2 separate regions of the Homo sapiens genome follow, and region 1 is linked to region 2. Evidence: promoter capture Hi-C in human tissues and cell types (Jung and others, 2019). All regions are on one chromosome and are shown on one strand. Each heading gives the region's core, a stretch centred on a gene start or on the middle of the fragment in contact. The rest is flanking DNA. Distances are from core to core; before and after follow the strand shown.

Region 1 (6,408 bases), core at 80-2,579, 36 kb before region 2:
TATGCATGGAACCCCCAGAATAAATATGCTCAGCCACCCTGTGGGCCGGGCAATCCAGACAGCAGGCATAAGGCACCAGTTACCCTGCATGTTGGCCCAGACCTCAGGTGCTAGGGAAGGCGGGAACCTTGGGTTGAGTAATGCTCGTCTGTGTGTTTTAGTTTCATCACCTGTTATCTGTGTTTGCTGAGGAGAGTGGAACAGAAGGGGTGGAGTTTTGTATAAATAAAGTTTCTTTGTCTCTTTATTTTTTATGTATTAACCAAACATACCTCCAGACACTGCTGTGAGTGCTGTGTCTCTGTTAACTCCTGGAATTCACCCATCCAGAGGAACCAGGATGCAAGAGGTTAAGAAACTTGCCATCTGGGTTTGGGTTCCCCATACAAGGATTCAAATAGTTGATTTAGGAAGTAATCCCGGGAAACCCTGCTAAGGTAGTGGGGAACTGAGGCAGGGAAGGACACAAACCAAGAAAGTGTTACCTGAAAGGGGTCCAGATGCAGACCCCAAAAGAGGGTTCTTGAATCTCATGCAAGAAAGAATTCAGAGCGAGTCCATAGAGTCAGTGAAAGCAAGTTAATGAGGAAAGTAAAGGAATAAAAGAATGGCTACTCCGTAGACAGAGCAGCCCTGAGGGTTGCTGGCTGCCTATTTTTATGGTTATTGATTAATTATATTCCAAACAAGGGGTGGATTATTATGCCTCCCTTTTAGACCATATAGGGTAACTTCCTGATGTTGCCATGGCATTTGTAAACTGTCATGGCGCTGTTGGGAGTGTAGCAGTGAGGACAACCAGAGGTCACTCTTGTTGCCATCTTGGTTTTGGTGGGTTAGAGCCATCTTCTTTACTGCAACCTGTTTTATCAGCAAGGTCTTTATGACTTGTATCGGTGACGACCTCCTGTCTCATTCTATGACTAAGAATGCCCTAACCTCCCAGGAATGCAGCCCAGTAAGTCTCAGCCTCATTTTACCCAGCCCCTCTTCAAAGCTCCAGTTTAAATAAACCTCTGACAAAAGGGTGAGTTATTCAACAGATTACCAGCATGAGTAACTGATGCTTACCTGCCGGGGATCTCTGGAAGACCATGCATGGCACATGCCCAGTTATGCCTGCAAAGGAGAGGGAGCTGGGGTATTTGTCCACCAGCTCCCATCTGTCATTGGCTGAGAGCTGCTTCCAGGAGCATTAATTCTCCAGCACTTCCAGCTACTCCAGGAAAAAAAAAATTCTTCAACTGAGAGTTGGAGGTGTTGAGAGACTCTGGCACACCAAGAAGACAGGAACAGGACACCAACAGTGGCTGATGATACACTGCCAAGGTCACACAGCTAGTTAGCAACAGATCTATAGTGGAATCCAGACAGTGTCTCCATCACCCAGGCTCTCTGTAGTGATCTGCGCTTCACATCCGAGGCAGGCAGAGGGATGGTGTGGGCCTTAGATGGGAAGGCTGGGAACCTGAAGCTCCTATGTCTGTATCACTTTTGCTTCTCTGAGTAGCTGCCCTGATTTCACACTTGAGGGGCTTGGCCATTTTAGATTCCTTCCTGCTCTAGGAGCCTACATACTACACTGGAAATGATGGGGAGCTCTCTACCTCACATGCAGCCTGATGTTTGTTAGAAACACCTCCTTGCGCCAGGCATGATGGCTCATGGCTGTAATCCCAGCAATTTGGGAGGCTGAGGCGGGTGTATCACTTGAGGTGAGGAGTTCAAGACCAGCCTGGCCAATATGGTGAAACCCTATCTCTACCAAAAAATAAAAAATTAGCCGGGTGTGGTGGTGGGTGCCTGTAATCTCAGCTACTTGGGAGGCTGAGTTGGTAGAATTGCTTCAACCTGGGACGCGGAGGTTGCAGTGAGCTGAGATTGTGCCATTGCACTCCAGCTTGGATGACAGAGTGAGACCCTGTCTCAGGAAAAAAAAAAAAAAACAAAAAAAACCTTGTTCTAAGCCAAAATCAATCCCTTTAGCTGCCCAAATCACACAGTTTACAGATGGAGAAACAGTTTTAGAGAGGAAAAGGGACTTGCCCAAAGTCACCCAGAGAATGGCAGAGCCTGAACTAGCCTTCTGGACTTCTTGCCTCCAAAAGCTCTTTATAATAAAATATAATTTTAAATAAAAATAGTTATCTGTTTAGGGCCAAGCAATATGCTAAGTGCCGTCCAGCCACTGTGTCATTTACGTCTCCAAACAGCTCTAGTTGGGAGGCTCAATGATTATCCCAATTTTACAGATAAGGAAACAGGTCCAGAGAGGTTGAGGATTAGCCTAGAACCACACAGCTAGGAAATCCTGGAGCCAGGATTTGAACCCGGGTCTGACCTAAGAGCTCCCAGCCGCCGTGATATATCAGCTTATGTCATCCTGACACCTACGCAGATGTCGGCTCGAATCCACTTTGCCTGAGCATTGTCTCAGAGAAATCTAATTTAAAAATTAGGCAGCAAATAGAAAATATATTTGACTGCTAGAGATGCAATGGGACTGGGAGCCCAACAAAGGATCTTAGGCAAAAGAAATCCAAGTTGTTGGCCTCAGCAACTATTACTGAACTGGCTGGGCTTTGGGAAGCTACAGAGGGATGAGAAGACCTGGTGGATCAGGTGGGCCCAACTCAGGCTGGCCCCCACCCTGCAGGAAGTAGGAAAAGTCCAGGGTCATAGGCCCAGTGAGATGCCGGCTGCGGGAGTTTCAGCCTCCGGGGCTGGACCAGAGGGCAGGAGGGGACGCCCCTGGGTAGCAGCGCCAGAGTGGGCTGAGTGGCCTGGGCCCCTGCGGGGGAGCTTTCAGAGATGTTGATTTGGGGGTACTCCCTCAGCCCTGCCTTTACACAGAATTTGTGGGGGATGAGGGGAGGGGGAAAGGGGGGAGGAAGGCAGTGAGTGCATCTGAATTTTTTTTTTTTTTTTACAAAAAGTGGCTTATTGCATTTTTCTGATTACTCTATCAGCACGTGCAGACCTTTTCCTATTCAGAGAAAGCCTGAAGATATAAAGAGGAAAGTGAAGAAAAACCACCGGAAATCCCATCCCCGCCCCAGCATCTGGCACTGTGTGGGCGATCACGAAATGAGCGCTTGTTTTTGAAGGCGTAGTATCTCCGTGAACATCCGGTTGAACAACCTTTCTGACTTTATTTTTCCCACGAAAGTTATTAATTAAAAAACAAAAAGCAAAACACCGAAAAAACAAAAAACCCAGCAAGTGTTTGAGCTCCCACCACGAGGGAGGCCTGACGTCACTGGATCCTCCCGGCAGCCGATGAGGCTGCATGGGACTTGCCCACGATGTGCTGTTACCGAGTGGCATAGCCAGGCTTCAAACCAGAGTCCTAGCTAACCGCCCTGTATATACCATGGGCTCATCATCTTCCCTGGTTCCAGCTCAGAACAGAGACTCAGAGGAACAAGGGCTCTGCGCTCACCCTGCCTGGTTAGGTCCAGCCTTTCCAATTCCAAGCTGTGTGACCATGGGAAAAGTGTTTGCCCACTCTGGGCCTAAATTTCCTCCTTGGTAAAAGGCACACAAGAGCAGTACTCTGCACGCCACAGTGGTGGGGTGAGCAGCAGATGACGTGGTGGGTGGAGGCCAGGTGACACCAGGCTGCTCTCAAGCTTAACTTGCCTGTGATGGTGGCGGGACCGTGTCAGTTCTTCCACCAAATCCCACCTGTTTCCACGACGTTTATTGACAAGTCAGGGGCACCGCCCCGGGTGGAGGGGGTGTGAAGAGGAAGTCAGCTCCCTGGTCCCTGCTGCCCTCTGGTGACCACATCAGCATCAGCACCTGCTCCATCCCAGCAGCTCCAGGTCCAGGCCGTGCCCAGAAAACTTGGCCTGGGAGATTCCCCACCCGCCCTGCCCCGATCCCACCTCTCTTCCATCTCTGCATTTTCCAGAAATTCCCCCAGCACCAGACAAAAGAGCCTAATGTCCATTAGATATGCTGTGTGGCGCCAGGCCAGCGTGTAACCTCTCTGTGCTTGATTCGTTATCTGTAAAATGGGAATCATTATAATATCTGCCTCATGTAGCTATTGTGAGAATTAAATATGTTAGTACCTGTGAGGTCCTTAGAACTATGCCTGCGGCTGGGCACAGTGGCTCACGCCTGTAATCCCAGCACTATGGGAGGCCAAGGTGGGCAGATTGCCTGAGGTAGGCGTTTGAGACCAGCCTGGCCAACATGGTGAAACCCTGTCTCTATTAAAAATACAAAAATCAGCCAGACATGGTGGCGGGTGCCTGTAATCCCAGCTACTCGGGAGGATGAGGCAGGAGAATTGCCTGAACCCAGGAGGCAGAGGTTGCAGCAAGCGGAGATTGTGCCACTGCACTCCAGCCTGGGCAACAAGTGGGACTCTGTCTCAAAAAAAAAGAACTATGCCTGCAAATAGTTAATGCCTTAAAAGTATTTGCTAACATTCTTCTTCTTCTTCTTTTTTTTTTTTTTTTGAGACAGGGTCTTTCTCTGTCACCCAGGCTGGAGCGCAGTGGCCCAATCCCGGCTCACTGCAGCCTTGAACACCTGGGCTCATGTGATTCTCCCACTTCAGCCTCTCAAGTAGCTGTGACCACAGGTGCACACACCACTAAGCCTGGCTAATTTGTTTTTTAATTTTTTGTAGAGACAGGGAATCACTATGTTGCCTAGGCTAGTCCCAGACTCCTAGGGTTCAAGCAATCCATCCACCTCGGCCTCCCAAAGTGCTAGGATTACAGATGTGAGCCACCATGCCTAGTCTGCTAACATTATCCTTAATATTACACTGAATATGTCTGTGGATTTTGTGGGAGGTGAGGGTATAAAACATAATTAGAGGAAATAATGACATTCTAAATTTAATTTGACTTTATTACAAAAAGGGCAGAATGGAGCAACAGTAATCCAGGACAAAAAATTGTCCCAATCCCATCATTCAACCCACTTGTGTTTGTATCTGTTTGTGCCACTTCTGTGTGTTGTTTACATGCAGAGTCAGTGTTTGCGTATTTGCGGTTTTATATCATTCATTTCTCATCATACATACATATATTTATATTCCTGACATTTTTCTAGGGAATATCTTTATATTCCTGACATTTTTCTCTTTTTCCCTTATGTTCTTCCATACCGGGACTTATAGGACCTTGCCCAGACTCAACTTCCCTCTTCCCCATGGACCCAAGTTGCTGAGCTTCCAACAGGTGTTTACAGCAAAGGAGAATGAGACAGAGAGAAGCAGAGATGCAGAGAGAAAGACAGACAGAGAAGACTAAACTGATTGATCCCAACTCCATTATGATATCTGACTCCAACCACAGAATGACCCTGATCCAGCCACAGACTGACTTCTGATCCTGGCCACAGTCCACCTCCTGTCCTCAGCCACAGAACAGCTCTGACTCAAGCCAGGAACTGAGTCCCGACCCATGTTACTGACTTACTCATGATCCTGGTTGCAGGCTGGCCCCAGCCACATGCTGACCCCTGACCCTCACCACAGATGGATCTTTGATCCCAGCTATAGGCTGATCTCTGATTCTGGCTGCCCTGAACCACCACTCCTATATACTGATGACCCACCTTAGCGTGATCCCACCCAGGAACTGGCATTTCCTGGGACAGGCTCTTGGCCACCTGCTGCTCTGCCCTGGGCACACCAGGCCCTACGCATCCTCCCCCTTCCACCACCATCCATGATTTCCTGATTTCTAGCAGCAAATTTAGCTTGAGTTGGTCAACATAGCTGGGCTGCCTGACCTTCCTCTCTGCCATGGAACCACAGAGCAAGTCAGCAGTTCTCCTTCCTAATCAAAAAGCAGCATGGAGGAGAAGGCTCCTTTGCCACCTTCCTTTCTGCTTTGGATGGTGCTTTTGCAATCATGAGGAGACAAGCCTGGAGATGAAAGGAGGCATTCTGAATATGGTGGAGTGGAAGAAGAAGAAGGCCTGCCTGGGGCTTTGATTACATCACCAAGTGATCAAACCAACCTTAAATTCTTAAATAAACTGTAAGTGTGCTTTTCTTTAAACCACTGTGAGTTTTCTTTTGCAGTCATAAAGCAACCTTAAAAATTGTAGTAGGTACAATAATGAACCCCCCAAGATGTCCATGTCCCAATCCCTGGAACCTGTGAACATGTTACATTACATGGCAAGGGGGGGATTAAGGTTACAGATGGAAGCAGGGTTGCTAATCAACTGAACCTGAGATGTAGAGGGAGATTATCCTTAATTATCCAGACAGGCCCAATATAATCCCAAGGATCTTCATAAGTGAGAGATGCAGGAGAAGCCAAGTCAGAGAGAGATTTCAAAATATTATGCTGCTGGCTTTGAAGATGGAGGGAAGGGCCATGGGCTAAGGAATGCAGGTGACCACTTGAAACTGGAAAAGTCAAGGAACAG
Region 2 (7,124 bases), core at 4,625-7,124:
ATTCTAAAGAACGCACAAAGAAATTATTAGAGCTAATAAATTCAGCCAAGTGACAGGGTATAAGATCAACATACAAAAATAAATTGTGTTTGTATATACTAGCAATAAACAACCCCAAAAGGAAATTAAATAAATTCTATTTATAATAGCATCAAAAATAATAAAATACTTAAGAATAAATTTAACCAAGGAGGTGCAAGATTTGTACACTGAACACTATAAAATATTGCTGAAAAAATTAGAAAAGACCTAAATAAAGTTTTTTAAATTCTATGTTAATGTAATGGAAGATTTAACATTGCACTCCTCAAAGTAATTTATAGATTTAATGCAATTCCTATAAAAGTCCCAATGGCCTTTTTTAAAAAATGGAAAAACTGATCCTAAAAATCATGTGAAATTTCAAGGGACCCAGAAAAGCCAAAACAATAAAGTTGGAGGACTCAAATTCCCATTTTTAAAATTTACTGCAGAGCCAAGATTGTGCCATTGCATTCCAGCCTGGGCAACAAGAGCGAAACTCTGTCTCAAAACAACACAAAAACAAAAACAAAACAAAACAAAACTTACTGCAGAGCTACAGTAATCAAAACAGTGTGATAATCCTGGCACAAGGCTAGACATATAGATCAATGGAATTGAACTTAGAGTTCAGAAATAAACCCATGAATCTATAGTCAATTTTTTTTCATTTTTTTTGCATTAAAGCACACTATCAACAAAGTGAAAAGACAGCCACAGAATGGGAAAAATATTTGTAATTCATATATCTGATAAAGGTGAGTTTCCAGAATATACAAAGAACTCTTAAAATTCAACAACAAATGATGAACAATCAAATTTAAAAATTGGCAAGGAGCTGGGCACGGTGGCTTATGCCTGTAATCCCAGCACTTTGGGAGACTGAGGTGGGCGGATCACCTGAGGTTAAGGGTTCGAGACCAGCCTGGTCAACATGGTGAAAACCCGTCTCTACTAAAAACACAAAAATTAGCTGGATATGGTGGCACACGTTTGTAAGCCCAGCTACTCGGGAGGCCGAGGCACAAGAATCGCTTGAACCCAGGAGGTAGAGGTTTCAGTGAGCCAAGATCACACCACTGCACTCCAGTGTGGGAGACAGATCAAGACTCTGTCTAAAAAAAAAATAAAATAAATAAAATTTGGCAAGGGACTTCAATAGACATTACTCCAAACAAGATATGCAAATGACTACCAAGCACATGAAAAGATGCTTACCATCATTAGCCATTAGGGAAATGCAAATCAAAACCACAATGAGATACCACTTCACATCCGCTAGGATGGCTATAATAAAAACCAACAGAAAATACATATTGTCTGCTGGGTGCGGTGGCTCACGCCTGTAATCCCAGCACTTTGGGAGGCCGAGGCGGGCGCATCACGAGGTCAGGAGATCGAGACCATCCTGGCTAACACGGTGAAACCCCGTCTCTACAAAAGAAAATACAAAAAATTAGCCAGGCGTGGTGGCAGGCACCTGTAGTCCCAGCTACTCGGGAAGCTGAGGCAGGAGAATGGCGTGAACCCGGGAGGCGGAGCTTGCAGTGAGCCGAGATCGCGCCACTGCACTCCAGCCTGGGCGACAGACCGAGACTCCATCTCAAAAAAAAAAAAAAAAAGAAAAAAAAAAAAAAGAAAATACATATTGTCAAGGACGTAGAGAAATGGGAACCTTCAGACATTGCTGGTGGGAATATAATACAGGGCAGCTGCTGTGAAAAACAGTTTGTCAGTTTCTTAATAAGTTAAACTTATTTAAAAGTTAATAAGTTAAACTACCTTTAACTCAACAAGTCTCCTTCTGGGTATATATCCAAAAGATTTGAAAATGCATGTCTACACAAAGACTCGCATGCAAGTGTTCATAGCATGCTTGTTTGTAGTAAAGGAAAAAGTGGACATACTCCAAATGTCCATCATCTCATGAAAGGATAAATGAATGTGGCATATCTATGCAATGTAATATTCTTCAGCAATAAAAATCAATTTTTATTTTTTATTTTTTTGAGATGGAGTTTCGCTCTGTCTCCCAGGCTGGAGGGCAGTGGCACTAGCTCTGCTCACTGCAACCTCCACTTCCCGTGTTCAAGCAATTCTCCTGCCTCAGCCTCCTGAGTAGCTAGGGCTACAGGTGCACGTCACCATACCTAACTAATTTTTGTATTTTTAGTAGAACAGGGTTTCACCATGTTGGCCAGGCTGGTCTCAATCTCCCGGCGTGTGCAACCACACCAGGCTAATTATTGTATTTTTTAGTAGAGGCGGGGTTTTACCATGTTGTCCAAGCTGGTCTCGAACTCCTGATCTCAAGTGATCCGCCCACCTTGGCCTCCCAAAGTGTTGAGATTACAGGCATGAGCCACCGCGCCTGGCCTAAAAATGGATTTTTAGATATGTGGTGCCAACACACGCTACAACGTGGTTGAACCCCAAACACGCGATGCTGAAAGAAACTAAACACAAAAGACAACATATTGATATGAGATGCCTAGGAAAAAAAAAAAGCAAAATCAGTAGAGGCATAAAGTAGACGAGTGGCCCTGGGAATGGGAATGGAGATTGACTATAAGCAGGCACAAGGAACCTTTCAGGAGTGATGGGATTGTTTTAAAATTGGATCGTGGTTATAATTGCACAATTCGATAAATTCACTAAAAATCATTGAACTGTACATTTACAGTGGCTTGATTTTATGTTATGTAAAACATAGCTAAATAAAGCTCTTAAAATAAAAATAAAAAAGAGGAAATGGGTTGAGGGAGGGGGTGTGTCAATTATTTTTTCCCAGGAGGCCCCTTGGCTGAAATGCAAATGTGACCACTTCCTCCCCGCTGACCAGCTATCAGCACTGAGGCATGGTTGGAGGGCCGCTGAGATCCTATGGCACCTTCCTTCCAAGGGTATAGAGGCCATACTTATGAGACATTTACAGACCCAGAGGAACCCCTCAAGGGACCACATGTCTATTTCTGAGGGGACTCATGTTTACCCCAGTGGACATGGGCCTGGCAGCTCCAAATGCATCTACTTTTTAAGCACCAAGGGACTGTGACCCCTGCTGATCCCACCCATTCCCCAACTCCTGGCCTGAACTGAAAATGTAAACTGGATTAAGCCACTCTTAAGATGAAACCCTCCAATGATGACTTCCCATTTCCTTTGGAACAATCTACCTTCCTCACCCAAAACCGTGAGGTCCCATGTGGTGTAGATGTGTGATTTCCGTGCCTTCACCTTCTACTATTCCTCCATTTGCTCACTGTATTACGCCATGCTGTTCTCAAGTTCCTGGAGCCAGCCACATTCTTTCCTACCTCAGTGCCTTTGCACTTGCAGATCCTTCTGCCGATAATGTTCTTCCCATGGCTGGGCACTTCTTAGCACCTAGTGTACCCCCAAATGTCACAACCTTGATCTCTCATTGGTTTTCTATGACATTTAGTACAGTTTACATTGAGTTTGTCTGTTACTTCTTTTTGTCTAACTCTCCCTACTAGAATATAGGCTCCATGGGGGCTGTCACTGTGTGTATATTTCTGTGGGCTAGCCCCAGGATGTAGCCAAGCTGCGTGATTTTGGACAAGTCACTTAACCTCTCTGAGCCTGCTCAATAAATATTAGGGGGAGGAAGCAAGGAATGGCTGGGTGGGTGGGTGCAGAGAAGAATGAATGGGTGGATAGGTAGGTGGGTGGGTAGAAAGCAGGTAGATAAAGAAGGCAGGCAGGAGGGAGGGAGGAGAAATTGAATATCCTTGTTTTCATACACACCCCAGAGCAGTGTAGTGAGTTAAGAGTGCGGGCTCTGGAGCCCAAATGACTGAGTTCAAATCCCAACTCTGGCACTCATCAGCTGTGTGACCTTGGACAAGTCACTTAACCTCTCTGAGCCTCAGTTTCCTCATCTGTAAAACAGGGACGATGATGATGATGATGATAACTATCTTCTAGACTCATTCTTTTTCATTTTGGGGATTTTATTTTTGAAGACAGAGTCTTGCTCTGTTGCCCAGGCTTGAGTGCAGCACTACAGTCATAGCTCACTGCAGCCTTCAGCTCCTTGGCTCAAGTGGTCCTCCCACCTCAGCCTCCAGAGTAGCTGGGACTACAGGCGTGCACCACCATGACTGTCTAATTTTTAAATTTTTTTATAGAGACAGGGTCTTGCTATGTTGCCCAGACTGGTCTTGAACTCCTAGCCTCAATCGATCCTCCCACCTCAGCCTCCCAAAATGATGGAATTATAGGTGTGCACCGCTGCACACAGCCTTCTCGAGTATTTCTGAGGTTTAAATGAGAGGGTGCATCTTTAAAGTCCTTAAAACCCTGGCACACAATGAGCTTTCAGCAAATATTAGCTCTTTTTACTGTCTCTTCTCCTGATCTTTCAACCACTACAAATTTCAGTGCATGTTATCAGAGAATTCACCCCGAAGATCAAGAGAAAGAAAAACAAAAGCTGGTGTCTTCCCAAGGTTCGTTCTCCAGAGAACACGACACACTTCGGTAGCTGGGAAGAGCTCTACAGGGCCAGGATCCCTCAAATCAACCACAGGGGAATTTGTACCAAGTTCCTCAAAAACAGCTAGAAAAAAAAAGAAAGAAAGAATAGCAAGACGCTTTCTCTTTTTTCTCTGGAGTGGTCACGAAAGTCAACAGCAAGTTGATTCCCAAAAATGAGTCAGCAGGGAGAGCTACAAATTGCATCTTGTTATCAAAACAGCATAAAATAGCCTCCCCCAACTGTGGGACATTTCATCCTGGTATGGCCCCGTTTTCACAGCCTGGTATAAGCTTAGGAATCAAACACACCCAGGTTCAAATCCCAGCTCTAATTCTTCTTGGCTTGTGTGACGTTTCACTCCTCTGGGCCTCAGTCTCTCCATCTGTAAAATGGGACTAATCTTGTCTGCCTCACACTTTGTGGGATAAAGTGAGATCATGTAGGCACCAAAGTAATTCGAGGTGGTGGTGATGGCAGTGGTAGTGGTGGTGGTGGTAGCGGTGGTGGTGGTAGCAATTCTCTTGCTCTCCTTTGGAGACTGCACTAGGCATTAAGCTTGTTACATTTTGTCTCCTGGTTTCTTGAATGTCTTCCAGAAACATCTGACCCTCTCATGGGCCTCTGGCATGTTAGCAAGATGAAAACTCTCTTGAGAATTTCTTTTCTCTATTTTCTTCTTGAATTCTCATGTGTTAATGTCTGCCCTCTTCCTCATAGCTAGGTGCCCCCATTTGACAGATGGGCAAAGTGAGGCATTCAGAGAGGTGATGTGACGTGCCCAAGGGGTCCTGCTCCCTGGAGCTCTGCAGCAGGAGACTGGATCCAAAGGAAATGGAGGCAGAGAGGCATGGGGGTCAAGCCAGAGCAGAGGGTCCCAAGCTCAGACCCTATTAGGCAGGTAAGGCTCAGGAATAAGAAACAGGCTGGTTTGCAAAGTCTGAAAAAGGGGCTTCCGTGGGACCTTGGGCAAGGTTCTGGTCCTTCTCTCTGTGCTGAGGGGCTGGAGTCGGCCACTGAGGACTCTGGGTCCACGGGTGAAACTGTGCCACATCTTCACACCTCTGGCCTCAGTTTCCATATCTGTGCAATGTGGTGGCTCCAGGAGGCACTGCCTGCCTCATGGGTTATGACTGAGAGGCCTGTGGGGATGATGTCACAGGTCCCTAAGAGGGAAGTGTCACCCCGATGGCCCCAAATGTCTTACTTGCAGGTGACCTTTGGTGACAGTGGGTGCCTGCTGTGGGGCCAGGCCCCCTCCCACCTCTTTCTCACTCCCTCCCAGGAGGAGCCCAGCTGCGGGTGGGCGGGGCTGGCGGGGAGCGGCTCACCACATCCTCCTCTTCCTCCCCACTCTGCACATGCGGCTGGGTGGCAGCCAGCGGCCTCAGACAGACCCACTGGCGTCTCTCTGCTGAGTGACCGTAAGCTCGGCGTCTGGCCCTCTGCCTGCCTCTCCCTGAGTGTGGCTGACAGCCACGCAGCTGTGTCTGTCTGTCTGCGGCCCGTGCATCCCTGCTGCGGCCGCCTGGTACCTTCCTTGCCGTCTCTTTCCTCTGTCTGCTGCTCTGTGGGACACCTGCCTGGAGGCCCAGCTGCCCGTCATCAGAGTGACAGGTCTTATGACAGCCTGATTGGTGACTCGGGCTGGGTGTGGATTCTCACCCCAGGCCTCTGCCTGCTTTCTCAGACCCTCATCTGTCACCCCCACGCTGAACCCAGCTGCCACCCCCAGAAGCCCATCAGACTGCCCCCAGCACACGGAATGGATTTCTGAGAAAGAAGCCGAAACAGAAGGTAATTCCAGCCCTGGTTTTCTGCTGGGACCAGGGTGCCTTCTCTGCCCAGGAGGGACTGTTCCCTGCCTGCTGCATCTAGTGTCACAGTGGGAGGGCTCGGAGGACTGTGCCCAAGTCACAATTGGGGACACTGAGGCAAAGAAGATTCATGCAGTGAGGCTGGGCAGAAATGAGGTTGGGGTCTCTTGTTCAGCACAGCTTAGGGGCCCAGCAGCAGGGATGTGGCTGAGACGACCCTCTATCTTGAAAACCAGCCTCCAAAATGTAGCGGGCTGGGGAAGGAAAGCCAGTTTCAAGCCAAACATAACATGTCAATCACCCGATTCTGGGCGGCTGAGTCGGGAGGTGACGGGCATGGGTGTAGAGCCTGATGGGACCCATTCTGTGTCAGTTTCTATGTCTTACCACCTTGATTCCACCCAGTCATTCAAAACAATGGCTGGTGTGCCCATTTCGCAGATGAGGCAATGAGGCTGCGAGAGGTAGAGTGATTTTCCCTCGGTGACTCAACTGGGACGTAGCAGGTCGGGCAGTCAAGCCAGGTGACCCCATGAGCTGTCGCTGCATCTTTCTCATGAAGCACGGGGAACGGGTCGGATGGTAAGAGGCCAACCCAGTTCCCTGTGCATGTGGAGGAGAGGAGGGTGGGGAGGTCAGTGGAGGCTGAGCCTTGAAGGATGGGAAAGGAAGAACATTCCTGGTGGAGGAGCCCTGGGGAGCGGGAACTTAGGACTTGCCGCAGGAATGACGTCTCTGCTCAGTGAAGGCAGAAGACCAGGTGCGGGACATTCAAAGCCAGGAGG

The links. Contacts are between HindIII fragments. The study calls those that stand out against the background at their distance.
Region 1: a contact is called between a fragment that was not itself captured here and the fragment with the promoter of IL21R in region 2, in 1 of the 25 tissues and cell types used here (lymphoblastoid cells).

The regions. Positions count from the first base shown.
Region 1 is chr16:27,364,532-27,370,939 of GRCh38, forward strand. IL4R (interleukin 4 receptor) reads left to right here. Exons shown (of 11, transcript NM_000418.4): 11 at 1-247. Among named protein-coding and RNA genes, the nearest start is that of IL21R, 34 kb to the right of the region's middle. RefSeq lists enhancers at 1-41, 527-1,726, 3,100-3,159, 3,190-3,269 and a silencer at 5,283-5,483. The HindIII fragment of the contact is 9,103 bases long and covers 1-5,881 here.
Region 2 is chr16:27,396,300-27,403,423 of GRCh38, forward strand. IL21R (interleukin 21 receptor) reads left to right here and starts at 5,875. Exons shown (of 9, transcript NM_181078.3): 1 at 5,875-6,319. RefSeq lists enhancers at 5,952-6,494, 6,387-6,506. The HindIII fragment of the contact is 8,819 bases long and covers 511-7,124 here.